5 separate regions of the Homo sapiens genome follow, and regions 2, 3, 4 and 5 are each linked to region 1. Evidence: promoter capture Hi-C in 16 types of primary human blood cells and fetal thymus (Javierre and others, 2016). All regions are on one chromosome and are shown on one strand. The core of a region is centred on a gene start or on the middle of the fragment in contact, and the rest is flanking DNA. Distances in the headings are between cores, read along the strand shown. Region 1 holds the start of PAQR3 (progestin and adipoQ receptor family member 3). Region 2 has its middle 130 kb from the start of RASGEF1B. Region 3 overlaps BMP3 (bone morphogenetic protein 3). Region 4 overlaps BMP3 (bone morphogenetic protein 3). Region 5 has its middle 36 kb from the start of BMP3.

Region 1 (6,267 bases), core at 2,128-4,627:
TGTTGTTAGAGTGCATAACTGGAAAGTTAAGTCATGTAAATGGACTAGGGAGAACTGAAAAAGGCCATAAATTGTTGAAATAAATCCAGAAGTCATTTTGCAAAAGGTTTCATGGGTACACTGCTGAAGACCAAAGCAGTTCCCATTTTTAGGGTTTTTTTTTTTTTTTTTTGAGACGGAGTCTCGCTCTGTCACCCAGGCTGGAGTGCAGTGGCGCAATCTCGGCTCACTGCCAGCTCCACCTCTCGGATACATGCTATTCTCCTGCCTCAGCCTTCCATGTAGCTGGGACTACAGGCACCCGCTACCACACCCGGCTAATTTTTTGTATTTTTAGTAGAGACAGGGTTTCACGGTGTTACCCAGGATGGTCTCAATCTCCTGACCTCGTGATCCGCCTGCCTCGGCCTCCCAAAGTGCCATTTTTAGTTCTTTACTCTAGTGTCCCATCATTATCATAACTCAGCTACTTTCTCTGTGTCTGATAATCTCTGGGCATCTTTCTACTTTGTTTCAAATAACAGGCTACGGATTCTCTTCCCACATCTCCAGGTCAAATTCCTAAGGAAGTAATTGATTGATCAAACTAATTACCATTGTTCTTGAATGGACATTTGTGCCATCGAATGTCATGGAATACTGATCTACTTTTGGTTCAGCAATAGACTCAAGGTAGTATCATATGGTACCAGCAAGAAATACGTGCAGAAGGAACCTCCTATAAGAGGTCTGTAGGAGTGGCAGGTAGGCATTCTCAGGCATGAACGTCCTACACTAGGAAATGAGAATTTCTATACACAGTAACCTTCAGCAGAGACAATGTACTGAGCATGTAGTAAGTTCTCAAACATTATTTTTAGCTCCATGACTTAAAAAATAAGTCTCACTTACTTCATAGGACATTTAAGTCCACTTAGGATATATTTCAATTTACCTTTCCAGTTTTATTGATTATTTTTCCTTGAACTCTCTATATAGCTTACATTTGTTGAGTGCTAACAGTATGTCTGGTACTTTTCTAAGACTGTTACATGGATTTAGTCATTTAATCCTCAACAACACAAAGTACTGTTATTAGTCTTATTCTACCAATAAGAAAACTGAGGCTCAGAGAGGTTAAGTTACCTGCACTAGGACATGTATTAATAGTTAGTAAATGATTGAACACAAATTCGAACTTAAGTAAATGGCTTCAAAGTCCAATATCTTAATCACTAAGCCATACTGCTTCTCAAAAATCAACCAATATTACTAGCATAATAATAATAGGTATTATGAGTGATTATTGTATGTTGTCAGGGTTCAGAACACCACACCCACCCCAAAGTGTGGTGCTTTGACATGCTGAGTACTTTAAAGGAGACTGGGAAGGCCTCAAAACTAAGGTCTCTCTGAACTTCTTTCCGTCCTCCTTTCTTCCTTTTCCTGTTCTTCCCAAGTGGGTCTTACAACCTAGAATTTCTCTCCCTAAAGGAAGCCATAAAACCTAGTAAGGGGCCGGGCGTGGTGGCTCACGCCTGTAATCTCAGCACTTTGGGAGGCTGAGGCAGGCATATTGTTTGAGGTCAGGAGTTCAAGGGCAGCCTGTCCAACATGGTGAAACCCCATCTCTACGAAAAGTACAAAAATTAGCCGGGCATGGTGGTGGGTGCCTGTAGTCCCAGCTACTCGGGAGGATGAGGCAGGAGAATTGCTTGTACCCGGGAGGTGGAGATTGCGTGACCCGAGATTGTGCCACTGCACTCCAGCCTGGGCTTCAGAGTGAGACTCTGTCTTCCCCCAACAACAACAACAACAAAAAATCTAGTAAGGTTACTTTCTGACTGTCCCTGCCTTTCCGTGGTCACAAAGGAGTTCTGACTTACCTCACCTGAAACTAGGTCATAAAACCCTCATTCTAGAGAGTTCCTGCCCCATACTCTGAGGCCAAGAATTTGAATGAACTGGCCTTGCTAGCTAGGATCCCCCCTCAGTTTATTATCATTAGATGATGCCCCCTTTCAATCATGTTTCTCCACAACTATCCACTCCTTTCATCAGACTTAGCATAAAAAGCCCATTTTTTCCTGGGTCTTTGTGTCTTCATTTCTGAAGACTCCTCTGTCACATAAAACTGTGTTAAATGAATTTATTATCCCTTTTCTTGTTAATTTTTATTATTTATTTTTTGAGACAAAGTCTCGCTTTGTCACCCAGACTGGAGTGCAGTGGCACAAACATGGCTCACTGCAGCCTCGACCTCCCAGGCTCAAGCAACCCTCTCACTTCAGCCCAGAATAGTTTGGGACTACAGGCGCCCATCACCACACCCGACTAATTTTTGTTTTTTGTTTGTTTGGTTGGTTTTTTTTGTAGCGACAGCGTCTCACTATGTTACCCAGGCTGGTCTCCAACTCCTGGGCATAAGCAATCCGCCTGCCTCGGCCTTCCAAAATGTTGGGATTACAGGCATGAGCCACCTGCGCCTGGCTTCTCTTAATTTTTTTCATAGGAATGTCAGCTGTGAACCTTGTGATAAGTGAGGACAAGATATTTTTCTTGCCCTTACAATGCCAAACAATGGACTAAGCGTTCTATTATACACATACGGTACTCAAACTGATGTTTTGCCCTGTTGCCATTATAAGTAAACACTTGCATTACAGTAAATAGCCAGAAACAAAGCTGCAACACTTCCTGTAAACGCTACTATAGCCGCACTCCACAGGATTTTTTAATATGTTCTATATTATTCAGTTAAGTAGATATTCTCATTTCCATTGTGATTTCTTCATCAGCCCTTGAAATATTTGGTGTATTGCTCCTATTCCAGACGTGGAGACTTTTAGTTTTCTTGTTACTCTAGTTTAATTCTACTGTGATCAGAGAACATAACGCTGAAAGGGGTCGGAGTTTTGAATGCACGGGGGCTTTCCTTTATGGCTCAGGATGTGCTCGATGCTGGTGTATGTTCCACGTGCATCAGGTTTCCTCTCTTTCCAATTATCGTGCTAAGAGCTGACTTCAGCTTAGAAATCCTCAAAGTCCCTTCTGACACTAAGTGTGTGTAATTCCAAGCATAAACTAAACGGTAATTACCTCGAACTTTTCTTCCTGTTAACTCTTTTCCTCTTGATTTTTCAAAATGCAGCAACTATTACTTCTAATAAAAAAACAGAAAAAGAAAAAAAATCCACTTGTATTCGCCTGTAGCTCTGTGCTTTCGGCTCTTCTCATATGCAAACGAAGACCCCAGGCGCCGCCAAAACACAGCGTGAGAGACGCCCGGGAGCCCGGGCCGCCGCCAGCGCACGCTCGAGCACACCCGGGCGCGCCCCAGCACCCTGCCCCTCCCAGCTAGGGCTGAGGGGCGGGGCCGCCGCGGCGCGCTGACGTCAGAGGAGGCTGCGACGCTGCCGGGTCCGCCGCGGCGCTGGCGGCAGTGGCCGGTGTGAGCGCAGAGCCGGGCCCTGGGCAGCAGCGGCAGCGCGGTAGGACCTCGCGCAGCGTCCGCGGGCTCCGGGGCGGGGGCGCCAGCGGCGAAGCCCCCTCCCCGGGGAGGCGGGACCTGGGGGAGCTCCCGAGCCGGGGAGCGGCGGCGGCCGGGAACGATGCATCAGAAGCTGCTGAAGAGCGCGCATTACATCGAGCTGGGCAGCTACCAGTACTGGCCGGTCCTGGTGCCCCGTGGCATCCGCCTGTACACCTACGAGCAGATCCCCGGGTCCCTCAAGGACAACCCGTACATCACCGACGGCTACCGGGCCTACCTGCCGTCCAGGCTGTGTATCAAAAGGTACGGTCTGGCTGCCTCCGCCTGGAGTGCCCCCTTCTCTCACCTACACCCTTTTTGTCTGGTCCCCCTTCTGCTTTCCCCGCCTTTCTGCTTGCCCATCATTTCCTCGCCGCCCCATCCTTTTCATCCCTTTTTGCCGCCTCTCCTCCCCCGTTATCTCCCCTTACCTGGCCGGGGTACTTGGTCCACGGAATAATCATGATAGTAACAGTGATCATAATTACAGCTCTCCTATGACGCTTTGCTCTTTACAAAGGGCTTTTACATCCTTTATTCGGTTTGTTCGGCTCATTGAGATATATATTGAAATGGGGCTGAGCCATATTTGCCCGGTGTATACCTTTCTTTTTAGAGCAACACTGTGGGAATTCAGTAGCTTTGGGCCAGATAAGTGCCTGTATAATAGGAAACAAGTTAACATATACACCCGAGATTTATTCATTTGGCAAATACTTATGGAGCCCATGCAGAAAAAAAAGCAAACATGGCCCTTGTTTTCATGAAGCTACTAAGGTGTAGCCTGGGTAACAGACATTAAATAGATAATTACACAATTACATAATAACCATTGTGGAAAAAATGCTGTGTAGGAAAAGTACTGTGGTAAAGAGAGCTCATAACGGGCACCCAGTCTCCACTAGAGCACCACAGAAGCATCTCTAAGAAAGAAATTTCTTTATCATTTTAAACCTTTAAAACCACAGTCCCTTGAAAATCCGTGTTTTAAAAAAACAAAACTGAAAAATAACTATTCTAGTTCTTGGAGTAACTGTCCAAACTTACTACCTGTACTAAAATACAGGACCTCTGCTTCAGGAGAATTAAGATACAGGTGTTGGTTAGCTCCAGGTCGCTGTAGTGGCAAACCCTAGTGCCAGAATGTGGGCTGTTGAATTGCTCAAGCGGCAACCACATGTCTGATTCTTGATTTTTCCAGCATTGTCTTTTCCTGCCCTTCTTTCCTTTTGTCCTGCCATGAAAGTGTTTCTGTGACTCATGGTCACAAGGTGACATCACTGCCCATCCCTACTTGGCTTGAATGGATGGCCCTTAGGATTCACAACTTGAAGCGTAATTACCGTTTTCCTCCCCAGTGCCTCCTGTGCATGAGTAAATTACACAGCTGAGTTCTGCTGTGGATCTGGAGTTCCACAAGAATAGGGCAAGCAGTGAATTGCCTTAAATATTTTCTACTCAACTAGCAGTGGTCTTCTGCGTTCTGATGTTAGGGTCCAAATCTCATGGAGTGGAAAATTAAGTATAGAGCATTAGCTCTTGAGCTATTGAGTCAAAGACTTTAGTATCCAAATCTGCCACTTAACAGCTCTGAGACCTGGAGCAAAATGTAACCTCACTGAGCCTCATTATACCCACATATAAAAATGAGGGTAATCACAGTATCTGCTTCCAGAGGTAAAAAAAGATTCAGTAAGATTCTGTGTGTGAAATGCTATACATGGCCTGGAACCTAATAAGCCGTCAATAAATGGTGATTGTTGTCATCACCAGTGGTTGTGAAGCTGAACAGATGATGATAATGAAGATGATTATTTGATTTTAAAACTGAACAGAATACGAAGATGTGGTGCTGGACTCCTGTTAACTTCAATAAGGATGGCACCAGGTTCGAAAGACGGAAGAAGAGACCCAAAGCCAGTAAACAAGACATAGGGTTTTACTAGGGTAATTTACAGAGAGGTCCAGTGACAGTGGCCTGAACGGGAGAACCTCTGCCGCCTGCAGAAAGCATGCAGTTTAAATAGCATTTTTACTTAGCACCCTTCCCCCTAACAACCTCCATCTGGTAATCTTCATTTGCAAAACAAAAGGCCTCCATCCCATGTACAGTCAGCATTCCATGAGATGGGACAGGGGCTCAGATGTTCCTCATAGATAAGGAATCAGTCTAAGGGTTGGCCGTGCTTGGAATTGTAAACACACATTCAAGTGTGTTTTTCATATAGGGTCATTCTCAGGGTATGCTTAAGATACTGCTGTCAGGTGTGTCTACTGTGCAGGAGACACCTAACTTTTCGTACAGTAAGAGTAGATTCTTTATTGGAGATGTTCTTGCCTTCCCACCAGCCTTATCTTTTCCAAGTTTAGCCTTTGCCCTCTCTCCTTTTGGCTTTCAGGAGTGACGGGGACAGATTTTGGATGTAATCTGAGGAGGTTTTGTATGTCATAGCAGTTTTGCCAGTCCTCTGTTAGCTGCAGGGAACATGGAGAGGTGGTGCCTCTCAGTTCAGTTAGTCAGGTTATACTGGATTTCACAAAAAGAAAAGTTCTGAAGTAATAAGCAGAGCATAGTACTGATTGTCAAAACAGTCCTGTAGTTAGATGTTTCAAGCACATTCGTGCATCCCTTCCTCCAGTTATAAGTAGTCTTTACACTTGATGCTTGTACATGATAAAGCCTGAAATTCATGATCCAAGATTCACTTTATTTTTGATGATCATTTGATAGTTTTGACACCTTGCTATATACATCA
Region 2 (6,267 bases), core at 1,110-3,609, 2.4 Mb before region 1:
TTTTTTTTAAATCAGAATGCAGCTTCTTACTGGATGCATATCGTGATGACTTCAGAATTATTAACCCTTCACTTGCTCAGTGTCTCCCACATTTTCCTGTGCTCTGCTCTGTATGTAGTGTGGGAGGAATTCAAGTTCAGAATAAACTACTTGGCACTATCCCCTCCCCTCAAACAGAACATGGTGATTGTGGGATATCACAAGACACTCTTGGCTAAAGCAATTAAATATAGGGAAGATGAAACTTTTATGTTAAATAGGAGGTTCTAAGATGATATGTAAATCAAATTTTGGTCTAAGAAAAATTTAAGATTATTTATTAAAACTACATTTCCAGCCACAAGCCTCAGAAAAACAGATTAATAGGTCTAAGGTGTAAAACCCAAGTATTTGCATTTTAAATAAGTGTATCAGTTTTAAAACCTGGTCCCCAAATTCGTTGATGCTCCTTGTATGGAGAGCTGGATTCTGTCTCCTCTCCTTGACTCTGGGTAAAGTCACTCTTTAACCAAGAGAATATAGTGGAAGGGATGCTGTGCAGGTTTCTGGGCCTAGAATTTGAACAGTAGGTTCCACCTTTTGTCTCTTGGGATACTTATTGTTGGAACCAAGCCACAGTGCTATAAGGAAGCCAAGCAGCCATATGGTGAGGCCCTATGTAGGTTCCGGCCAACCACCCAGCTAACACCCAGCAACAAGCCCAAGACACATGAGTGAGAGAGTGGGCCTGCTGAGGATTCCAGCCCCTGGATGTTAATCACCTTCAAGCAGCACCTGCTGACTATGTGGAGCAGAGATAAGCCAAGCTTACCAATCCCTGCCCAGATTGATGAATGAATGACTCTTGTTTTAAGCCACTGAGTTTTGGTCTGGTTTGTTAAACAGTAATAATAACCAGAATAACAACTTATTCAGGTAACTCGCAAGTTTATGGCCCATGTACTTTGAAAAATACTCTTTCTGATAATCAAATGTCAGGAGATTATGCAAAAGGTACGGGGTAAAAACTATTAAAGAAACTAATGTGTTTTTTTCAAGATGGCTGACTTAGTGACATCAGGTGCCAGTTCTACTCGGAAAGAAGATCAAAGTTACTGGTGAATGGACAAGTTTCAAATGGAAAACTGAGGGAAGAGAACCAGAACGTGTCAGAGAGCACAAAGGAAGAAGCTGGGCTGCAGAAAAGGAAAGCAGCAAGAATACGGCAGAGATCAGCCCCTGAGGAATGTGGAGCCCTGCAGAAAGAGTAGGTGGGAGTGCTTCTCTGCTTCCCTCACCCCTCTGACAATCTGCTGACCACCAACTGTTGGGGAGCCCCTCTCCCCTGGTGACCCTGAGCAATGCTGTTAGTGGCAATTTGGGAACTTTCCAGGGACAGAGACCTGGGTGGCCAGCTCGTGTAGGTGTGCCCACACTCTCTCATACCTGAACTGAGACAGCAGGTGCCATACTGGTTGTGCACCATAGTGGGCCACCGCCCTGGCCAGGGATTCTCTGCCGTCGAGTCGCCACGCCACCATACCTAACAACCTGCTTGGACTTTGGCAAGCACAGGGGACAGTGGGTCCCCAGGAAACTGCAGAATCCCTGGAAATCTAATGGTCTGCATGGGCCCCCCTAAGGGAGGGGGGAGTACAGCCCACCAGGGCCTCCCTTGGGACAAAGGAAACAGAGGTGTGATGGCAATCAATGAAGGGGACAGCACTGATGCCTGGAAATGGAAGTGGAGAGGGGGACTTGTCCTGCCCACTGCCCCACTCCCGTCCTCTGTTGCAGACACAGCAGTAGCTCTTCTCACTGGGGGTGAGTGTGTGGACATGCGGAGAAAGCATTTTTTGTGCTTTTCATGCCAGCTCCACCCCCCACTGAAATTGACCCTATGCCACTTGGATGCCAAAGGACTGGACCCAGCTACTCCTCCCTTTGCAGAGCGGCAATGTCTTGGCAACAGAGGACAGAAAAATTATGGAGCTGCCTGCACTGGACTGCGGGAAGGGGCAAAGCCTCTTCAACTCATTTTGGCGGTAGCCATCAGAGGGGCATATCCGTGTCCTGCAGTCACACTGTGGTCAGGAATCAAAGGTCACAGTCTTTATGAATTGAAGTTCATAAGTCCTCTGACAGGAGCATGATAGGGAAGTGGGTTGCATTCCTGCCTGCTCTGGATGAGGAGCTGGTGAATCCCTCCTGCTCCTTCCTCCAAGACCTTGGCACACCTCAACACAATCTCTTCCTACCCCACTACCCTGCATCAGAGAAGGTGTATTCTTTTTTATTTAATTATTTTTATTTTTTTATTTTTTATTTTTTTTATTATACTTTAAGTTCTAGGGTACATGTGCACAACATGCAGGTTTGTTACATACGTATACATGTGCCATGTTGGTGTGCTGCACTCATTAACTCGTCATTTACATTAGGTATTTCTCCTAATCGTATCCCTCCCCCCTACCCCCACCCCATGACAGGCCCCACTGTGTGATGTTCCCCACCCTGTGTCCATGTGTTCTTATTGTTCAATTCCCACCTATGAGTGAGAACATGGGGTGTTTGGTTTTCTGTCCTTGTGATAGTTTGCTCAGAATGATGGTTTCGAGCTTCATCCATGTCCCTACAAAGGACATGAACTCATCCTTCTTTATGGCTGCATAGTATTCCATAGTGTATATGTGTCACATTTTCTTAATCCAGTCTATCATTGATGGACATTTGGGTTGGTTCCAAGTCTTTGCTATTGTGAATAGTGCCGCAGTAAACATACATGTGCATGTGTCTTTATAGCAGCATGATTTATAATCCTTTGGGTACATACCCAGTAATGGGATGGCTGGATCAAATGGTATTTCTAGTTCTAGATCCTTGAGGAATTGCCACACTGTCTTCCACAATGGTTGAACTAGTTTATGGTCCCACCAACAGTGTAAAAGTGTTCCTATTTCTCCACATCCTCTCCAGCACCTGTTGTTTCCTGACTTTTTACTGATTGCCATTCTAACTGGTGTGAGATGTTATCTCGTTGTGGTTTTGATTTGCATTTCTCTGATGGCCAGTGATGATGAGCATTTTTTCATATGTCTGTTGGCTGCATAAATGTCTTCTTTTGAGAAGTGTCTGCTCATATCCTTTTCCCACTTTTTGAGGGGGTTGTTTGATTTTTTCTTGTAAGTTTGTTTAAGTTCTTTGTAGATTCTGGATGTTAGCCCTTTGTCAGATGGGTAGATTGTAAAAATTTTCTCCCATTCTGTAGGTTGCCTGTTCACTCTGATGGTAGTTTCTTTTGCTGTGCAGAAGCTCTTTAGTTTAATTAGATCCTATTTGTCAATTTTGGCTTTTGTTGCCATTGCTTTTGGTGTTTTAGACATGAAGTCCTTACTCATGCCTATGTCCTGAATGGTATTGCCTAAGTTTTCTTCTAGGGTTTTTATGGTTTTAGGTCTAACATTTAAGCATCATGCTACCTGACTTCAAACTATACTACAAGGTTACAGTAACCAAAACATCATGGTACTGGTACCAAATCAGAGATATAGACAATGGAACACAATAGAGCCCTCAGATATAATAGCACAGAACTACAACCATCTGATCTTTGACAAACCTGACAAAAACAAGAAATGGGGAAAGGATTCCCTATTTAATGAATGGTGCTGGGAAAACTGGCTAGCCTTATGTAGAAAGCTGAAACTGGATCCCTTCCTTACACCTTATATAAAAATTAATTCAAGATGGATCAGAGCAGGCTGTTTTCAATCTTCATCAGCCCACCTGAGGATGAGCTGGCTTTTACTCTTAAGCACCTCCAATGTGGCTGCGGGCCATGGATATTGCTTCAGTTCAATAAGCCTGAACTGCACTACCAAATAAAAATCCTGCTGTCAGAAGGGCTTAGTGCTAGTCCAGAGATAAGCTTCTTGAATCCTCCACACCCTCAGCCCTGCGGGAGATAGTGTGTAAGCTCATACAATACATAACTACAACAAACAGCATCTGAGAAAGCACACAGAAGCTATCCACAACCGAGGAACCCAAACAGAGCCTTAGGCCTCTGAAAGTACCCACAAACAAAGCCAAATAATCATACACAACATACTCCATGGTCATACCCTCAAGGAAAAAAAGAATAAAAAAATTTAGAAGTCTCATCCAAATGATTGCAAATTCAAAAATAAGAAGGAGCAGCTCCCTCAGATGGAAAGAATCAGTGCAAGAACTCCGACAATACAAAAAGCCAGAGTGTCTTGACACCTAGGATTGCACTATCTCTCTAGCAATGAATCTTAATTAAATTGAAAGTCTAGAATGACAAAGAATTCAAAATATGGATTTCAAAGTAACTGAATGAGATCCAAGAGAAAGTTGAAATTCAACACACACAAAAAAAACAGAAAAATGACTCAGCACATGAAAGATGAGACAGTTATATTAAGAAAAAATGAAATAAACCATCTGGAATTGAAAAATTTACTACAGGAATTTCAAAATACAATTGGAAGCTTTAAACAATAGACTAGATAAAGACTAGAAGGAACAATTTAAGAGCTTGAAGACCAGTCTTTTGCATTAACAAAAACAAAAAGACTGAGAAAATGAACAAAGCCCTCAAGAAATAGGGGATTACGTAAAGTGACCAAACCTACACTTTACTGACATTTTTGAGAGAGAAGATGAAAAAGTAAGAAATGTGGATTATGTAATCAAAGGAATACTTCAGGAAAATGTCCCTAATCTTGCTAGATTGATCAACATTCAGATACGAGAAATTCAGAAAATACCTGCAAGATGCTATAAAAGACAACCATTCCCAAGCATATAGTCATCTGACTGTCCAAGGTCAATGTAAAAGAAAAAATCTTAAAGGCCACTGAAGAAAAGGATCACATTACCTGTAAAGGAAATCCCATCAGACTGACAATAGAATTCTCAGCAGAAACCTTACAAACCAGAAGAGATTGGGGGCCTAATTTTAGCCTTTGTAAAGAAAAAAAAATGCCAGCCAAAAATTTCATATCCTGCTAAACTAAGTTTCATAAATGAAGGAGAAATAAAGTATTTATCAGGCAAACAAATGCTAAGGGAATTAATCATCACCAGACTAGGCCTACAAGAGATGCTCAAAGAAGTTCGAAACATGGAAACAAAAGAACTATACTTGGTATCATAAAAGCACACATAAGTACAAAGCTAACAGATCCTATAAAGCAATTACACAATTCAGACTACAAAGAAACTAGGTAACAAAAATATGACAGGAACAAAACCTCACATATCAATATTAACCTTAAACATAAGTGGCCTAAATGCTTAAAAGTGGCAAGTGGGATAAAACAACAACAGCAACAACAAGGTCCAACCTTCTGCTGCCTTCAAGAGATACATCTCCATGTGTAATAACACCCATGGGCTCAAAGTAAAGGGATGGAGAAATATCTATCACGCAAACAAAAACAAAAAAGAGCAGGAGTTGCTATTCTTGTATCAGATAAAACATACTCCAAAGCAACAACAGTAAAAAGAAGGCCATTATATAATGATAAAGGGTTCAATTCAACAGGATTTTACTATCCTCAACATATATGCACCCAACATTGGAGCATCCAGATTCATAAAACAAATGCTGCTAGACCTCAGAAAAGAGATAGACAGCCATACAATAATAGTGGGAGACATCAACATACCACTGATAGCACTAGATAGATCATCAAGGCAGAAAACTAACAAAGAAACTCTGTACTTAAATTGAACTCTTAACCGAGTAGTCCTAATAGACATATACAGAATACACCACCCAACAACCACAGCATACACATTTTTTTCTCATCTGAGCATGGGACATTCTCCAAAATTAACTACATGCTCAGTCATAAAACAAGTCTCAATAAATTTAAAAAATCAAAATCATGTCAAGCATTTTCTCAGACCACAGTAGAATACAATCAGAAATCAATAGGAAGAGGAACTCTCAAAACCACACAAGTATGTGTAAAATAAGCAAATTGCTCCTGAATGACTTTTGGGTAAATAACAAAATTAAGGCAGAAGTCAACAAAAATGAAACTAATGAAAATAGAGACACAACATACCAAAACCTCTGGGATACAGCAAAAGCCATGCTAAAAAGGAAGTTTATAATGCTAAATGCCTACCTAAAAAAGATAGAAAAATCTCAAATTAACAACCTAATGTCACACCTAAAGGAACTAGAAAAATAAGAACAAACCAAACCCAAAGCTAGCAGAAGAAAAGAAATAAAAAAGGCCAGAGAAGAAC
Region 3 (6,267 bases), core at 1,147-3,646, 2.1 Mb before region 1:
CATTAGTCACACGTGGCTATTGAGCACTTAAAATGTGATTAGTTGGACTGAGAAACTGAATTTTAAAATTTTATTCAATTTTAATTAATTTAAAGTTAAATAGCCACCTATGGCTAGTGGCTGTGGTTTAGCACAGCCTCAGATTCACACTCTCCCAACTCTTTCGTCTACTAAGGGAATTTTTCTGAGTGGTTTAATTTTTTGCTAGACCTTTAAATCTTAGGCCAAAATGAAATTCCAGTCTGCCTGTCATTCAAACTACTGAACAATTGCTTTTATTCAGAGTCTTTCCACTGTCAGCCACTGCTATTTATGTCAATTAATAGACAAATTACTATTCGGGACCTCTTGTCTCTGATGATGGTCATGGTAACACTCTTCAAATTCCCAGTGGTTCAAAGCAAACATTATTTTTTAAGTAAGAGGTTTTATAGTCCAAATAATTACTTTTCATCAATTATGAAAGTCTAGGATTTGGCTTCGTCATTTTTCCATAAATTCAGTAAACAAAAGAATTCAAAAAATACTTGATCAATAAGTAGCTTTAATCATTCCATTTTTAAAACTTTCTTTAGTTTTACTTTGTATACCAATTCAGATTTGTAGGCCATCATCTATATGTGCCTGACAACCATTCTAGAGGCTACTGAGCCTTCTCTCAAATTCGAATTTTATTCCAGAAAGCTGCAAAAGAAATAATACTAACAAAGTCCAAGATTCTTTAAGATTTTTTATGTAAGTAAAATATGACATTTTAATCTAAATCAATATACTCATGTTTAGACGATTTCTTCCTTATTCTCAAAGCTTGAGGTTATTTTCTCATAGGCAGTTCAAAAAAATGTTGCAGAGGAGTCTGCTTGCTACAAGACAGAAATCTCATTCATCTAATGTTAAATTATAGATCTCAGTTCTGTAACTAGTTCAAGTGGGATAGAATTTAAAGTCTACCCCATTACACTGTGAAAGAAGAAATGGGAACTGCTGATGACATTAGAAGCAAAGGGACTTTGAAATGCTCTCAGCCTATCCTATCACACCTGAAGCCTCTCTTTATAATATGCTGCTATTCCTTGGATGTGTTAGAAGGTGGCTTTCAAATCAAATGAAGCAGAAAGCAGAGCTCCAAGGGGCCGGTTTTGACACACACACTCCCTAGCTAGGCAGGTCATCTACCTCTGCATTACAAAATCATCTGAAGATTACTAACAGTTCCAAGCTTCCATGTATTATCACCAGCCTATGGGCACTGGCTTCCATTCAGTATTTGTCTATGTGACTGTTTCAGCTGCCAAATTTTTGATATTATACCATTAATTTTTTCATTTCTAATAAATGAGATAATTTAGTGAAATCACATATTCTAGGCCCATTTTAAAAAACCCACTTATGTTCATGTGTGTATATGTCAGTGTTTATAGTGATGGAAAATCTCCAGAAAACAGGGCTGAAGTCCTGTAAACACCAAATGTTTTCCTTAAGTGAGTTCGTTTTGGGGAATGCTCTTTCACATGATTCTTGCACATAATTGCCTCACCTCTGGACTGCTGCATTCACATCTGGCCTGAGCCCCCATGAAGTGGGGGTTGGTTTTCATTGCAACTTGGTGGTAGTTTGCCTATGTGCTGAATCTGAAAAGGTTCAGCATAATATTTTGAGCAAAGGGTTGGATCATGACCATATTTCTCTCCCTGCTTCTGTGATGTTCTAGTAGAGCTAGGCATTTCTCTCTCGGTTTCTTTCCCTTTCTTCCTCCCTCCTTCCCCCATCCCCAGTTCCCAGTTGTGAGCAGGTTGGAATGAAGGGAACATGAGGAAGAAACACCTGCTACCCGCTGATTTAACTTTTTCTAGGACATGTGTGTGTATGTGTGTGTGTATGCGGTGTGTGTGTCTGAGTATAGGGCTGGGATCAAGGGAATAAGGGGAAGAAAACACCTGCTACTCTCTGATTTAACATTTTCTGGGATTGGATTTTTTTTATTGCCCTCAAGGCAGTATTTTGATGAAACAAAAAGAAATGAGGAATAAACTCAAATCAAGTTGCCACCAACTAAAATTGAGCAGGCAGGGTAAAAATAATGCTTCTCAGGTATTCTGACCTTGTTAATTATCAACAGAGTAGCCTCCAACTGTCTTGCAAAATAGAGTTCTCTTTCTCTATGGGAGGTATCTCAAATACTCAGACAACTATGGCCTTGGACTTGAAGCAAACCAAAGATGGATTTTCTTTCCACATCCTCTGATGGACCTAGAGAAAATAGGCATGGTACACAAGGCAGGGAAATTCATACCAAAAAATGAAAATAAAACAAATCCCAACTACCTAAAATGATTACTGTATATAGTGTTTGCTTAAGTTTCATAACTTATGTTTATTTTAATTTTAAAAAGATAAGAGACAGTTCATATCACAAGATATGTTAGGCAAGTCACTTTTACCCCATTTCTCATTTTCCTCTAAAGGGCGCTCAACTTCCACCCCACTGGCTAAGAGAAAACAGTGCTGGGAGATACTTCTTGTTTTTTTCTTCCTCCTCTCATGGCTCTTCCCCATGGGAGAAGGAGCAATGATCCTACCGATGACAGGGTAAAAGCTGGTGGTTTGACCATTGGTTCATATTTTTAGTGGGGCCATGTTAAGATTTAAAGTTTAAGTCACCTGTGCTGTTGTTCTTTTGGCGTGTAGGGAAGGCCAGAATTTCCTGTTTAGTGGCATTGTGGAGATGAAGGGGAGGCTCTTATTAGTATACTACCTCTATTCTCCTTAGACAGGAACAGGAATTCCTTTGTACTCTCTGGGTGGAAACGGTGTTGAAGTAATATTTTCTGCTCTTGTCCCTATCCTTTCTCTTTAAGGGGAGAGACATATCTGATTGACGATGAGAAGAAATGGGAACTGAGAGTACACAGTTCAGCCTCACTTTGACTTTCCCTTTTTCAGAATTTATTTACTCAAAATGCACATTTTTCCATTTTCCAAAAATTCAACTCACTGAGACCATCTCTGTACCACCCGGGTTGACCTGAAATTGGGTGGGGAAGTTCAACTCAGGGGAAAGTTCTCAGATCCCAACACTAATCAAACATTACCCCATTATTAAAACTTTTTTTTGCTTTCTTTATGATGCGATAGTCTATTTTCCTCAAATTTCTCAGGACTCCAAGGAAAGATGGGTGAAATTACTCTGGCAGCTTTCTTTAAGTAGAGGCAACTGAGGTGAAGTGCAAAAGAATAGGACAATTGGGGTGAGATTATCGCTGCTGGAATCCCAGCCCTGATGCTACTAGCATGGTTCTGACCTAAGGTGTGTCAGTTATTCTCCTGGGTCAGTAAAGTGAGGATAATACGCACCAATACTTCTCAGGGTCAAATGAGGACTCATTCATGGAAGTGTATAAAATGCATTTAAAAAAATCAAAAAGCAAATTTCGAAGAATATTTACTTTGTGCTATGAACATTTATAAGTGTTTCATGTATAAAGGCTCAAGTAATTTTCACAGCCCTGTAAGGCAGGCTCTGTGTTTTGTTCTCATTTTACACATGAGGACATGGAAACAGAAAGAAGCTTAATAACTTGTCCAAGGTCCTACAGTAAGTGACAGAGTTGAGATTCTAACGTAAATTGTCTGCCTGTAAGCCTGTATCTATGAAATACAATATGCATAAAAATAAACTTTCATATACCAGAAATACACATATATAATATTTTAGTCTATTTTCTACAATTCATTTGGCTTTGTTTTTCGTTAAGGTATTAGATGCCTTAGTTATTTGTTAAAATATAGTAAGACAAATAATATCACCTACTTTTTATTATTAAAGTAAGAGGAAGAATGCTGTAAATAAAATGTAGGTATGAAAAGTAGAAGAGTCTCACAAACCCCATCACATGATAGAAGTGAGATAGAATCAACAATCTCCTAAGTTGAGGGACGGATGATCTATTACCCTGGTCCTTTCTTGTGTTCTCTCTTTCCCTTCCATCGTGACTTTTGTTGTTGCTTTTTTTCCCAAGACATGATCAGGAGAAAAATATTTATAAGTTGTGATTTAATATGGATGTTTGACTCATGGATTCTGGTATACTAGAGCAAAAAGGAATTTTTAACCACCACCTGGAGAAAATTAGGACATGTAAGAGGTGAAGGAACTTAGGAAAGTGCTCAAGCCCAGAGCTTAGCATTGCCATAGATTCTGATGTTGCTTCAAATGCAATTGAAAAAAACAAATATAACCCAAATTAAAATTTAAATATCATATTGTGAGAACATCCACTTTTTGTGAACAAAAGAGTATGAAGGGAAGGCTCACGGGGTTCTCACATTTTGTATGTTGTGGATGTAAATATATATAACTCTGTAACATTGTGCTTTTCCTATGTGAATATATTTTCATTTTACTGGTTGATATTCACTTGTTAATAGTTACATATAGCTAACTTCCAGTTCTGAGACTGCAGACAATGTAGGCATTAATGCTTTATATCATCAAGCACATCTCTACCCACTAAAATAGAGTTTTGTATGATGTGAGCAATCCTTGGTAATACTAAGTGGATGTGTGCTCAACGTTCTTATTCTTAACCTTAATTCCCACCATACCTTCTAATAGCTACAAAGATCAATTCTAAGTGGTATTTCAAGACAATCCTCTGGCATGAGAACTGAGGCAACTCTTTTGAAAGTATTCATTAGTCACAAAACTGGCTACCCTGAAAGTATGATGATTCCATCAATATTCCTCAAAGGCATACATCACTCTGCTACTAACTGAAAGAACCAGAATTCAAACTCAAGGTGGTATTATCTCAAGGAAGATGCTCTCTCCATAATGTTACAAAGAATTCTAATACCAGTTTTTCCAGTTGCTAGTCTTATGCAATTGGGCATACTTACTCCAGTATATCATAGTCAATACTGTTTGGTTGCAAGTTACAGATATTGGCTTAAACCAGCATAAGTACAAGTGAGTAATTGTTGAGTTTTCAGGGATAGCCAGTGCAAACCAAGGACACAAAGTTCGATTTATGAGAAAAAGATACAGGAACTAAAATATCATCAGGAAACAGAGCAGCCACTCTTTTTACTATGCAAGGCCCAATGCTCTATCCCTGGCCAATTTATTCTTCTCTCTTCACAACTAGCTTTTACAACGTTTCCACATGCCTGCTAAAAATCACTGGAAGCCTCCATTGCCAGCCATGCTGCTAAATAACCTCTCAGCTTTACCAGCATTGGTCCAATTTTGTCATGTGTCAAGGAACCATTCCTGTTGGTGGGGGCCAGTTCCAAAGGGAGGCATGATGGGTAGACATCCAAACTTACAGTATAGCATGTCTACATTTCCTCACTGGAAAATGGGAAGACTACATTAGATAATAGTAAAAATAATAACAATTGATATTTACTAAGTCTTTATTCTGTTTTAGACACTTGGCTAAGTCATTCACATGTATTATCTCATTAAACCTTGTAACAACCCTAAGAAGCAGAAAGTTTATTGTCCCATTTTATAAGTAAGATAAATGAGGCACTGAGAAGTTAAGGAACTTGTTCAAGATGATCTTTAAAATTTCCTTGTAGTTCCAAAATGCAAACATACACAGTGTTACAAAGATGGATTAAAATAATAAAAATAATATAAAAGCATATTTTATTTCTTAATTTCAGGTCATTTTTTTTCCTTAAAGAAAAAACTATGGCCTAAACAAAAAATGGCTAGAATATATCTCAATGATAAGATTAATTAAATTTAGATAGTTATCATTCTAAAAGAACAGGACATGGTAAGAATGATAGATGAAATAAAGTTATTGTCAAAATAGTGAGTCAGACATCCAGAAAGAAACAAAAGTCTCCAACTATAAAATGTGGAGTTTTTGGTTAAAAAAGAAAAGAAAATATGAAACAATTTAAGTTGAGTTTCTCAAGCTTGAAAGATATATTTTTCCTGATGGGTATATTTCAATCTTGTTTTACAACGATAATCATGTTATGTTAAGAGTAAGTTACGATGCTCCATTTAGAATACCATTTGAAAATGTTCAACTCTATGCTTAAGCTTTATTACCTCTTTTAAATGCAGCACACTTGAAAATGTCTGGAAATATAGTATTTCCCAATAAGTAAAAATGAATGGTCAATGAAGCAATTTTTATTTCCATACTGTATAATGAATAGCTTTTCATTACTGAAAGAAAATGATACAAATTCAACAAAGCTTATACATTGGTAGTGAAGTATCCTTCACAGTTTCACTGCAAT
Region 4 (6,267 bases), core at 1,424-3,923, 2.1 Mb before region 1:
CTGGCATGCTCCAGAGCAATAATAGGCATCAAAGGACTTGGGGGAGATAATCCATTCACTCCAGCCAATATCTGCAAAGTCTACCTTGAGGTATCTCCTGGCGCAATTCCGAGGTTCAATCCACTGCTTTCTCCTTGCCTTTTTCAGGGTCTGCTCATCAAATTGGAGCGTCTGGCTCTTCCGATGAGGCCCCTTTCTCTGTTTCTTTTTATTCTTACTCTTTTCAGGGGCCTGAGCCTGAAGGGTCTTGTAAGGCTTTCTCTCCTCCCACACCTCATCCTTTTTATACTGGTATTCTGCCCCAGGAAGCTCGTTGTTCTGCAGAGGCAGCAAGACCCCAGTAGAGCGCTTCTTCCTCCGCTCAATGGAAAGGGCAGCTCTGATGTGGCTATCCCATTTGGGAACAGTTCCAGTGGGAAAATTCCGGTGTCCCTGTAAGCTTGATACCACACTTTCTGGCTCAGAAATGGCGGCATCATTGGCATATACCAAGATATAAGGCTCTGGAAAAGGTAACCTCCTCTTTGGCAGCTGGCGTCCCTTGGACGTAATGTTAAATCCTATGAGGAACTCTTCATTTTCTTTGGCCTTCCTCAAGAGTTGAGTGATATCTTTAGACAGCCAGGACATAATATCTCGATGAGATTTGGCCATATCCACTGACAGATGGCCAAGGAGTTGACTTTGGTTTCTGCTGAATTTGAGGGTCCATGCAGAAAGATCAATCTGAATGTGTTTCCTCTGAGCATGATGGGAGCATCCTCCAGACACTGGACAACTCAGGCTGATGTTTCCTAGCTCTCCAATACAGAAATACAGTGTGGCAGACAAAATGTTTTCAGACTTGGTTAGCGATGTCAGATTGAAGATATACAGTCCTTTTCTTTCAAGAGTTTCTAGGAAGGAAAAAGAAAGAGAGTAAACAGGAGAAAACAAGACCATTACTTCACTATATGACAATTAACTCAAAATGAATCAGAAACCTATATATAAGAACTAAATCCATGAAATTTTTGGAAAGAAACCTAGGGGTAAATCTTCATGACTTTGAATTTGGCAATGACTTCTTAGATATGAAGCCATTCTTAGATATGACACCATAAGTGTAAGCAATAAAAGAAAAAGTAGATACATCAATAAAATCGGTAAATTTATAAAATAAACTGGACTTCATTAAAATTAAAAACTTTTGTATATCAAAAGACATTGTCAAGAAAGTGAAAAGACAACTTCCATAATAAGATAAAATAATTGCAAATCATACATTTGATAAATCTAGTATCCAGAACATATAAATAACAGTTACAACTCAGCAATAAACAGACCAAGAAACCAAATAAAAATGGGAAAATGCCTTGAATAGACATTTCTTCAAAGAAGATATATAAATGGCCAAGAAGCACATGACAAGATGCTCAACATCATTAGCCATCAGGGAAACACAATCAAAATCACAGTGAAGTACTACTTGATACACACTAGGATGACTATAACAAATAAACGAAAAAACCCAGAAGGTTACTGAGAAGGTGGAGAAATTGGAACACTCTCAAATTGCTGGTGGGAATGCAAAATGGTTCACCTGCTGTGGAATACTCTTTGGCAGTTCCTCAAAAAGTTAAACATAGAATTATTATGATTCCGCAATTGCTCTCCTATGTATACACGCCAAAGAATTGAAACAGGCACTCAAATAATTACATGGTTATAGCAGCACTAGTCACAATAGCCAAAAGTTAGAACAGCTCAAATGACTACCAATGGATGAATGGATAAAGAAATTGTGGTATACCCATACAATCAAATATTATTCTTCCATGAAAAAGAATGAAGTACTGACACATGCTACAATGTGGATGAACCTTGAAAAAACTATGCTAAATGAAAGCAAGACATGGAAGATCACATATTGTTTGATTCCATTTATATGGAATATCCAGAATAGTAAAATCCATAGAGACAGAATCAGATCGGTGTTTGCCAGAAGCCAAAGGGAGGGGCTAATGAAAAGAAACTCCTTAATGGTTACAGGGTTTTGTTTTAAAATTGTGGAAATATTTTGGAACTATATAGACTTGGTGATAGCACAACATTGTGAGGGTATTAACTGTCATTATATTGTTTACTTAAAATTAGTTAAATTTATACTATGTGAATTTCACCTCAATTAAAACAAAGCAAAACAATTATGCAGTCTCTTGCTTTGGAGGCTTCCTGGAAGTGGAATAAAAAGAGAGTAATAAACAGGAATAATTTTAAAAGACAAAAAAAGGTTAGCAAGGATCAGCCATTTTAATTACTTTGCTCTTTCCTTTACTGAAGCACCATAAATGTGTGAAAATTTTAACGGAGAAATAAACTTAAAGGGGTGAAAGCTCAGAGTTATGGAGGATTGTCAAGACTTATTCCTACAAATTTGGCAATGTATTGTAATAGCTTTTTATCTGAGGCACGTATAGCCTACGGGCTACAAACACAGGGTTTGGAATTACACTCACCTTGATTCGAGTACTCGCTCAGCCACTTACCAACTTCACAACATTATACAAGCTAATATTCTCATTCACAAAATGAGACAATATCTACCTCCCATGTCATCAGAATTAAATGAGACATGTATAAAGCAGTCCATAAAGTGTCTGTGAAGTGTTTCTTAAATATCAATTATTATTGTTATTAGTTCTGGTATTAACAGTCTTACAGGGATTACATCTTCTTCTACCTACTTCAAAAAATGTAGGATGAGGCCAGGTGCAGTGGCTCATGACTGTTATGCCAGCACTTTGGGAGGCCAAGGCAGGTGGATCATTTGAGGTCAGGAGTTCAAGACCAGCCTGGCCACCATAGTGAAACCCTGTCTCTACTAAAAATACAAAAATTAGCAAGGCGGTAGTGGCACACACCTGTAATCCCAGCTACTCGGGAGGCTGAGGCAGGAGAATCGCTTGAGTCTGGGAGGTGGAGGTTGCAGTGAGCCGAGATGACACTACTGCACACCAGCCTGGGCAACAGAGTGAGACGCTGTCTCAAAAAAAAAAAAAAATTGTAGTATGCTTGATAAGCATTGGGTAAGCAGGATCCAACGCATCTCAATATTCAAATAATACATCTGAAAAAATAAGGCATACTGCAAAAATGTCAAAAAAGAAAAAAAAAGAATGCTGTTGTGGAGCTTGTTTGAAGTTTATGACATTCCATAAATTTAAGAGTTAACTTTCTATATAGTGCAACAAAAATGATTAAAATTGTTCACCCATACTTCCAATTCTTCAAATCCAGAAATGAGAGAGAAGAAGAGAATGAGAGATTTATTAATAGGTGCAGAATTTGATTCCTCTCCTTTAGCTCATAAACCGAGATCCACAGGACTGAGGTTAGAACTCTGGAATCTCCCATCCTGGGATCAGTCACCAGAGCCTAAGCCCTTCTCCATGCACTTGTTTCATATACATATTTGTTTCAGAAACACACACGCAATCGTGAAATTATGTTCTTGATCAAAAACATGTTTCAGTAAAAACAAAACATTTTTATAAAGATGTGGAAACTTAAAATGAGTTCATTGAGTCCCCAAGCACAAGGGAAGTGCAATGGGAAACATATTCTATTCATTTTTAACACTGTGTGAAGGAAAAGGAGGAAACTGCCATTGGTGCACATTTGTATAATCCATGACACCAGGATAATATTTTACAGACCTTTATAACAAAGCCATGGCATCAGGACTGTTCAGAGACTTGAGCCTTAATTCATACCAGTCACCGGAGCATATACTTTTACCCAAATTTCGTGTAGTAGCTAGAAGTTTAAAGTGGAAGGAAGAGAAGCCACTCTGTTCTAGGTATGTGGCAATCCAATGGTTGCCAAACAAACATGCTGGCAGGGAATAAATGATCTCCAAGGGATATGAGTGGCAGTAACTTAATGGGTAAACCAATCCTGCCCTTTGCCCCACATTTTGCTTCAAAATATTTTCTTCTTTCAAACATGTTTCCTTCTAGTCACCTTGTGACCTGCTGTTAATTAGCCTCTACCTCTGTGTCTAATCTACAACATCGTTTTGTAAAAGTCTCAGAATCTGTCTTACTGCCTCTTCCAATGGCTCTCATTTTAAACCAGTGCTTTCTTATGAAGTCAAAGCCTGTTGGTCCAGTTGCAATTTCACTACAACCAATAGCAGCCCTCAGACAAATAACCTAAGCTCTTTAAGTTTTGGTGTGCTTATCTATAAAGTGGGTCTAGTAGTAGCAACTATAGAGTTGTTGCGAGGATTAATTGAGAGAAGGCACATAAAGCACACAGAAAGTATTCAATAAATGTTAGCTAACTAGAACTGTGGTTTCCAGTATGATAGTATGTAGCCACTTACATTCAAATTGAGATGTGCTGTAAGTATAAAATACATACTGAATTTTGAAGACTTGGTAAGAAAATGAATATAAGATATCGTAGCAATACATTTTATATTAAGCCAGTGTGTGTTAAAGTGACTTTATTGAACTATATTGCATTAAATATATTATTAAAATTAATCTCACTTGTTGCTTTTCACACTTTGAAATGTGGCTACTAAAATTTTTAAATTACATATGTGACTAACATTTGTGGCTCCCCTTATATCTCTATTGGATGGTTGTGGTCTAGAATAATCACTAGTTTTGTAGTCAAAATGGAAAGGAAAAAAAAAAGACTATGCCATGATGATAATACAAGCTGCCGAAGGTGTTAGCTATGCTTGGAGCAGAATTGGGAGCCATTAACTTTACCCAGGTAGAGGCAAAGAAACACACAGGTAGGAAGTAATCTTTGGACCAGACTTTTAAAGATGAAGGAAGAAAGAAATCTTGGTGAGGGGATGGAAGGAACACATTCTAGCAGTATGCAATGCTGTATGTCTGGAAGCTTTTGCAAAAGAAATGTTGCCAATGTTTTAAATAGAAAATATAAAAATACTTACAATTAACTTAGTTATTGAAGTTCTAGTAGTTCTATAGAATTGAAGTTCTAGTGAATGTCTAAGTCATCCAAGTTGAGCAAGGAATGGCCAATCTGAAGGCTAACCAAAGGCATTATGTTATGCCCAACACTTGATGTGTTTGCTCTTGTTATTTCCACCTAGGCTAGGGATCTCTGCCTGTTCTAGGTCCTCTCCCTCCTGGGTTTAAAAAAAACCAAGAAGCAAAACAATAAGCTAGAATTATCAGCCATTTCACAAAGCATTCATTGACTTTGACTTTTCTAACCCATACTTTATTTTTGCCTTCTCTGATTCTAAAACACTTTATTTTTGTGTAAGTTAATGATCTTCTCTCCAAAGCAACTTAACAAATAGTTGCTGAGCATTTACAATGGATGAAAAAAATTGTAATAAGCGAGCAGCATGGGGTCAAGTGAATGTATATAGAGAAGTAAATAAGAGTGAGGTAAACGGCTTCCTGCAAATAGCAGTGCATGATAATATCTACTCAATTACTTTCATGCTCTTTTACTTTTTAGATTTTATATTAACTTGTAAGGTGAGTAACTTTCCATACTTATGAACAGAAGATTTGCATTGTCTCTCTCTTCCCCATGAGTTGTAGCACAGCTTTATCTATGCACACAAATATCTACGTTTGAATATCAGTAAATAAAAAATACCTTAATATTCACCTTTTCTAGTCTTCTGAAATATTCAGATACTTATCTATTGGGAATGATTGAATCAAAAACCTGAAGTGTACTTCCTGATTAATAAGAGCAAACCGATATAATAATGATAAAAAAAAGGGTGGATTTTTTCAGGTTACAAAAAATACTTATGCGTTTTTAGGCTGTGGATAGTATTCGGTACTAGAAAATATTAATTGTATGCTACACTGATCATCTAAATATATCTGGAATTGCATGCCTCATTTTGGGTGCTCTCATTGTAACCAGTTTATTAATGCAGAAGAGAGCAACTTGGAAAGTAACCCAGATGTTGAGGGGTCTGGAAACTATCTCATAGATTTGAGTTGAATAAATAAGAAAACATTGCCTGGAGGGAGAAAAAAAAGTTTAGCAATGATATGAGAATTATTTTCCAATATTTAAGGGACTGTGGAGAGATCAGGGTTTTTCTTTCCAGTGTCAAAGATGAGAATGCAGTCTAACGGTGATAGTTAAATGGAGGCCAAATCCAAGCCAATATAAGTCATGACTTTCAAACTGTTTTACTTAGTGAGATCCATCTGTGGGACTGGGGCAACTGGAGGTAAGTCAAGACTATTACAGGAGGATGTTTTT
Region 5 (6,267 bases), core at 1,542-4,041, 2.1 Mb before region 1:
TTGGATCTTAGGAGAACTCACTCACTATCATGAGAACAGCATGGGGGAAACTGCCCCCGTGCGTCAATCACCTCCAACCATTTCTCTCCCTAGACATGTGGAGATTATGGGGATTAAAATTCAAGATGAGATTTGGGTAGGGACACAGAGCCAGGTTATATCAATGTGTCCAGAAGAGGTTAGTACAGAAGTCTGAGTGGACTGGGTGGGAAAGATCTGCCCTCAATATTGGCACCATCCAGTCAGTCAGGGGCCCAGAGAGAATGAATACAGAAGGCAAATTTGTCTTTCTCTGAGAGCTGGACCATATTTTCTTCTGCTGTCTTGAACACCAGAACCCCAGGCTCACTGGCCTTTGGACTTCATGACCGCCCCGACCCTGGGGGGGTCTTTGGACTTTCAGCTTTGGACTAAGTTAAACCATCAGCTTCTCTGGTTCTCAGCGTTAAAATGTTGCAACTTTCTTAATAAATGAAGAAATGTCCTTTTTGTACATCTGCATTCATGAAAGATAGAATTTCTTGAGCTCTCAGCTGTTTGGGAAACTGCATATGCAGTGGTGATCCATTGTAGTTTTTGACCAATCTTGTCAAAAGACAAGTTGTCCATGGAGGTATTTCAGGTGACTGCAGTTATGAAGCTGGGGTCACACGATTATCAATCATAGTGGTATGTGTTTATATATTTAGCTTTGTGACTTATTATTTCATTATGAGTATGGCTCATCTGCTCATCATTGTTCTGCCCATGTGAGTGTCATTAGTGTACTTGAGTGTTTATGCTTGCAAAATATGTATTGCATATTTTATTGTGTAAATTGTCCTATGAAATGTCCTGTTGTGTTTTTACATGTTTCTCAAATATATCCTCATTAAAAATGTAAATGAATGTCTTTAAAATAATTTTTAAATTATTTTTTCTAGAATTATATTTTCAGGATTTTAGACTTTAGATCCAAATTTTCATATTTGGGATTTCAGCATTCAGGTTTATAGCATTTGGGATTGTATATTTTGGGATTATAATCAGTTACCTTTGAAACCAAACTCTGCCTCTTTCTAAAGTCTGGATGATTTTGGGTGAATGACTCAACATTTCTGAACTTCACTTTTCTCACCTTTTAAGATGGGAATATGATGCTCTGATGAGTATCAAAAAACATACTGTAGGAAAAGTGCTGAACACAGTTTTTGTGTGGCAGTTACTGTTATTATTTAATCAAAGTGTGGTAGGCTCTCTGAGCCTATTCATTTAAAAGAGAAATGAAACACTTACTAAAATGCTCACAACTATGAATATTCACGACTGGACCATAGAAGATAATGACTCCTCCAGGAGACTGCAGGCTTCAGAAGCTTTTCTGGGAATTTCTTCAAAGCACTTAACCCACAGTGGGTGCTAAATAGACAGCAAGTCCCTTTTCTGCCACATAAACTGGTAGCATTTTTTTTGAGATCTTTTTCATATATTATTTGTTTCAGAAAATTTCTAAGGTGCCCAAGCAAAGTTCCAAAGCACACACTGATACATCACACTTCTTTTCTGGCTGGGACGAATTACCGAAAAGTTAAAATACTTCTCTTTATTGAATCCCTGAATCTTACGCAGCTTTTAAAAATGAAAACCACAGCCTTGTGATGCTTATTTATGTTACAGAGGTTTTGAGCTGAAAATGATCCTCAATATCATCTGAAAACCCCATTGTCTCAGCCCAAAATCTCCTTAAGCTGATAAGCAACTTCAGCAAAGTCTCAGGATACAAAATCAATGTACAAAAATCACAAGCATTCTTATACACCAATAACAGACAAACAGAGAGCCAAATCATGAGTGAACTCCCATTCACAATTGCTTCAAAGAGAATAAAATACTTAGGAATCCAACTTACAAGGGACGTGAAGGACCTCTTCAAGGAGAACTACAAACCACTGCTCAATGAAATAAATGAGGATACAAACAAATGGAAGAACATTCCATGCTCATGGGTAGCAAGAATCAATATCATGAAAATGGCCATAATGCCCAAGGTAATTTATAGATTCAATGCCATCCCCATCAAGCAACCAATGACTTTCTTCACAGAATTGGAAAAAAACTACTTTAAACTTCATATGGAACCAAAAAAGAGCCTGCATCGCCAAGTCAATCCTAAGCCAAAAGAACAAAGCTGGAGGCATCATGCTACCTGACTTCAAACTATACTACAAGGCTACAGTAACCAAAACAGCATGGTACTGGTACCAAAACAGAGATGTAGATCAATGGAACAGAACAGAGACCTCAGAAATAATGCCACATATCTACAACTATCTGATCTTTGAGAAACCTGAGAAAAACAAGCAATAGGGAAAGGATTCCCTATTTAATAAATGGTGCTGGGAAAACTGGCTAGCCATATGTAGAAAGCTGAAACTGGATCCCTTCCTTACACCTTATACAAAAATTAATTCAAGATGGATTAAAGACTTAAACGTTAGACCTAAAACCATAAAAACCCTAGAAGAAAACCTGGGCATTACCATTCAGGACATAGGCATGGGCAAGGACTTCATGTCTAAAACACCAAAAGCAATGGCAACAAAAGACAAAATTGACAAATGGGATCTAATTAAACTAAAGAGCTTCTGCACAGCAAAAGAAACTACCGTCAGAGTGAACAGGCAACCTACAAAATGGAGAGAATTTTCGCAACCTACTCATCTGACAAAGGGCTAATATCCAGAATCTACACTGAACTCAAACAAATTTACAAGAAAAAAACAAACAACCCCATCAAAAAGTGGGCAAAGGATATGAACAGGTGCTTCTCAAAAGAAGACATTTATGCAGCCAAAAGACACATGAAAAAAATGCTCATCATCACTGGCCATCAGAGAAATGCAAATCAAAACCACAATGAGATACCATCTCACACCAGTTAGAATGGCAATCATTAAAAAGTCAGGAAACAACAGGTGCTAGAGAGGATGTGGAGAAATAGGAACACTTTTACACTGTTGGTGGGACTGTAAACTAGTTCAACCATTGTGGAAGTCAGTGTGGCGATTCCTCAGGGATCTAGAACTAGAAATACCATTTGACCCAGCCATCCCATTACTGGGTATATACCCAAAGGACTATAAATCATGCTGCTATAAAGACACATGCACATGTATGTTTATTGCGGCATTATTCACAATAGCCAGGACTTGGAACCAACCAAAATGTCCAATAATGGTAGACTGGATTAAGAAAATGTGGCACATATACACCATGGAATACTATGCAGCCATAAAAAATGATGAGTTCATGTCCTTTGTAGGGACATGGATGAAATTGGAAATCATCATTCTCAGTAAACTATCGCAAGAACAAAAAACCAAACACTGCATATTCTCACTCATAGATGGGAATTGAACAATGAGAACAGATGGACACAGGAAGGGGAATACCACACTCTGGGGACTGTTGTGGGGTGTGGGGAGGGGGGAGGGGGGAGGGATAGCATTGGGAGATATACCTAATGCTAAATGATGAGTTAATGGGTGCAGCACACCAGCATGGCACATATATACATATGTAACTAACCTGCACATTGTGCACATGTACCCTAAAACTTAAAGTATATATAAAAAAAAATCTGAACCAGATCTTGTCTAACGTAATGATAAAGAAACTGAGTCCTGGAGGTGCTCATGAACTGGTCTCCATTTCTGTTTCTTCTCTCTTCTGTTACTCCTTTTATGCATTTTTGACATGGTGCTCTAGATAGAGGGGTCACAGCTGCTCAGAGTGCTCTATTGTAAGCATGGTTCAGGAGTGGCAGGTTTCATGTAAGTTGGATTCTGTTCACTGGTAGGAGATCAATGTGTGAGTGGCTTCAGACGGCTTTGCTTTGCTTTCCAGATGAAAACCTGACAGAGTCCAGGCACCTTGGATACCGCTGTGTGCTGACAAATGACTTGAAAAATGGGGGATGAGAGAGGGTGCTGGTGGGTGGGAGAAGGACCAATCTGCTCCTGGGAATACTTTAGACAAAAAAACTAAGGGCTACAAAGTGACTCTTGAGTATGTGACTTTTTAAAACCCTCATTTATTTTAACTGGAGCAGCTCTTTTCGTCATGAGTTGTTTTATATTTTACTTGATATGCAATGTCAACTACCATAGAATTGGTCTTGATCCTTCTTATTATAAAGGCTAAGTTAGAAATTAATTTCATTTTTAACAATGTATTGGGCAAGCTTATTATGGGAATAAGAGGAAGTGTACTTTGTCCACTCTTTATAGTACTTATTCTTCTTCCTCTGTATGATATTGGAATCTGAGTTATGTGCAGAAACATTTACACTTTAACCTTGGTTTGTACACAGAGAAAACCAAAATTCAGCTTTTTATCCCAGAAGTTAATTTTGCATTCCAAACTTTTAATAGGAGTGTTTTATATTCCTCTGGATAAATCTATTTGACCCTCACAATACATATTTATGTACTTAATTAGTAGACCCTGATTCTGTGATCACTTTTTTTTTCTTTTTGTCAAGACAGTGTCTTTTTACATTGCCCCGGCTGGTCTCAAACTCTCGGCCTCAAGCAATCTTCCTGTGTTGGTGTTGGGCTCCTAAAACACTGGGATTACAGGCATGAGCCACCATGCCTGACCTGTGACCACTTTTTAATATTCTATTGGAGCTAACTACCTTCCTGACAATTCCGGATGAGTTATGTTGGGTGTGTAACATTGGGAAATAGTATATGTATTTCTGACCCTTGATAATTAAAGAACAACAATAAAATGGTATCAGCAGAAAGAAACAAGAAAAAAGGAAAGGGAAGAAGGAAAAAACGAATGTAGAAAAAAGGAAGGAAAGGAAATAGGGAGAGAGGGAGGAAAAATACTGACTATAAGGAGAAATTCATTGTGTGGCTAGGTTAAGAGCCAACAGAAAGTAATGGGTTTCTATAAAAGTAAGAGGCTTAGGTAAATAGAGGAAGCTCATGAGAAAAGGCAAAAGCTCAATTTATGCTCATCTTTTGTTTTATGTTCCTGAGAATCAACACTCTATGCTACTAGAGATTTCTTCCCCATTGAAGTCTTTTATTGAGGCCCTGTCCACTATGTGATTATTCCTTGTTGTTCTGTTTCTCTACTCCTGGTAGAAACAAGAGGGTATTGAGGGATGTCTATGTTCAATTTGCTTAATTCAGTAACTTGCTGATAGAGATCAGGCGTGCGCTCTAGCCAAAAAGAGTGGAATCTGTAATCTTACATAGCAGACTAAAATCACCTCTTTTCTGTATATTGACTGTGTGATCTTGTGCAAGTTATAAAACGTCTCTGATTCTCACTTCCTTAATCTGCTTAATAGGGAAAATAATTAGTTTTTATAGAAGTGTGCTTGAGGGACGTTGTACCAGAGTGTGAGAGGCAGGTGTGAACATCTCTTCTAACTCCATGATCAGAGATGCCACATTCGTAGCTTTAAATAGAAATATTAGTAGTGAAAATATTTACACTACAGAAATTGGCAAAGACTTCAAATCAGGGTTTTTTTTCTTTTCAGAGATTGTTATTAAACATTTATTACCTCTTTGCTTATGTATGAAATGAGATAATAAGTAGGATTTTGCCAATTGTAGGGATGCAGTATATATTTTCCTTACTTCAGCCATCCCTATAGAATATTTGCATCTGAAAACCTTTGATTTTTATGCTTTTAAATAAAATAAAACAAATGACAATAAAATTTTACTTAGAAACTCAATTTCATATTACAATCTCTGTACTTTATGATATTTTATCTGGCTCAGTTCTTTTTTTCTCTCTATCTTTTGACACTACTCTGAAGAATTCAGAAGTTCCGTCACTTTTCTTGAATTTTTCTTACATGATGTCTAGTACAGTGTCCCATGAAGATAATTATTATATTGCATTTTGATGATGATTTTCAGTGTGAGCCTAGATTGTTCAATATTATCTTTAATGAACAGTGTTAAGAGTTAAAAGTTCAATGCAAAAATTATAATAGTTTTCACACATATTAAAGGTGGAAGAAAGTTTTCGTGAGGAAGATGATCTATGTGCTGATCTGCGGAATATGCTAAGATATCCCTGTGAGAAGGGCAAGACTAAAGAGTAAGACAGATGGGTCAGAGAGGACCGAATTGCTAGAGAAAGGGCAGAAACCTGGGATATAGCTGAAAAGCTTTGTGTCAGTGAGAAGTTTGAGGCACAGTTGGAAGAGCAGACAAAGACTACACCTTAAAAGGCCAACAGAGGAGTTTGTAC

Evidence for each region. Contacts are between HindIII fragments. The CHiCAGO score rates a contact against its expected background, and 5 or more counts as called.
Region 2: a contact is called between a fragment that was not itself captured here and the fragment with the promoter of PAQR3 in region 1, in 1 of 17 cell types (neutrophils). The highest score is 5.8, in neutrophils.
Region 3: a fragment that was not itself captured here is called in contact with the fragment with the promoter of PAQR3 in region 1 in 5 of 17 cell types (M2 macrophages, naive CD8 T cells, M0 macrophages and 2 more); the score reaches 13.3 in M2 macrophages.
Region 4: a contact is called between a fragment that was not itself captured here and the fragment with the promoter of PAQR3 in region 1, in 1 of 17 cell types (M2 macrophages). The highest score is 5.7, in M2 macrophages.
Region 5: a contact is called between a fragment that was not itself captured here and the fragment with the promoter of PAQR3 in region 1, in 1 of 17 cell types (M2 macrophages). The highest score is 6.2, in M2 macrophages.

Annotation. Positions count from the first base shown.
Region 1 is chr4:78,936,548-78,942,814 of GRCh38, reverse strand. It overlaps PAQR3 (progestin and adipoQ receptor family member 3), which reads left to right and starts at 3,377. Exons shown (of 6, transcript NM_001040202.2): 1 at 3,377-3,775. The coding sequence starts at 3,591. RefSeq lists silencers at 3,198-3,687, 3,778-3,847. The HindIII fragment of the contact is 16,646 bases long and covers 1-6,267 here.
Region 2 is chr4:81,341,340-81,347,606 of GRCh38, reverse strand. No RefSeq gene overlaps it. Among named protein-coding and RNA genes, the nearest start is that of RASGEF1B, 130 kb to the left of the region's middle. The HindIII fragment of the contact is 3,101 bases long and covers 809-3,909 here.
Region 3 is chr4:81,057,407-81,063,673 of GRCh38, reverse strand. BMP3 (bone morphogenetic protein 3) reads right to left here. Exons shown (of 3, transcript NM_001201.5): 3 at 6,047-6,267. Among named protein-coding and RNA genes, the nearest start is that of BMP3, 30 kb to the right of the region's middle. The HindIII fragment of the contact is 2,350 bases long and covers 1,222-3,571 here.
Region 4 is chr4:81,040,367-81,046,633 of GRCh38, reverse strand. BMP3 (bone morphogenetic protein 3) reads right to left here. Exons shown (of 3, transcript NM_001201.5): 2 at 1-896. Among named protein-coding and RNA genes, the nearest start is that of BMP3, 13 kb to the right of the region's middle. The HindIII fragment of the contact is 4,463 bases long and covers 442-4,904 here.
Region 5 is chr4:80,991,822-80,998,088 of GRCh38, reverse strand. No RefSeq gene overlaps it. Among named protein-coding and RNA genes, the nearest start is that of BMP3, 36 kb to the left of the region's middle. The HindIII fragment of the contact is 2,867 bases long and covers 1,358-4,224 here.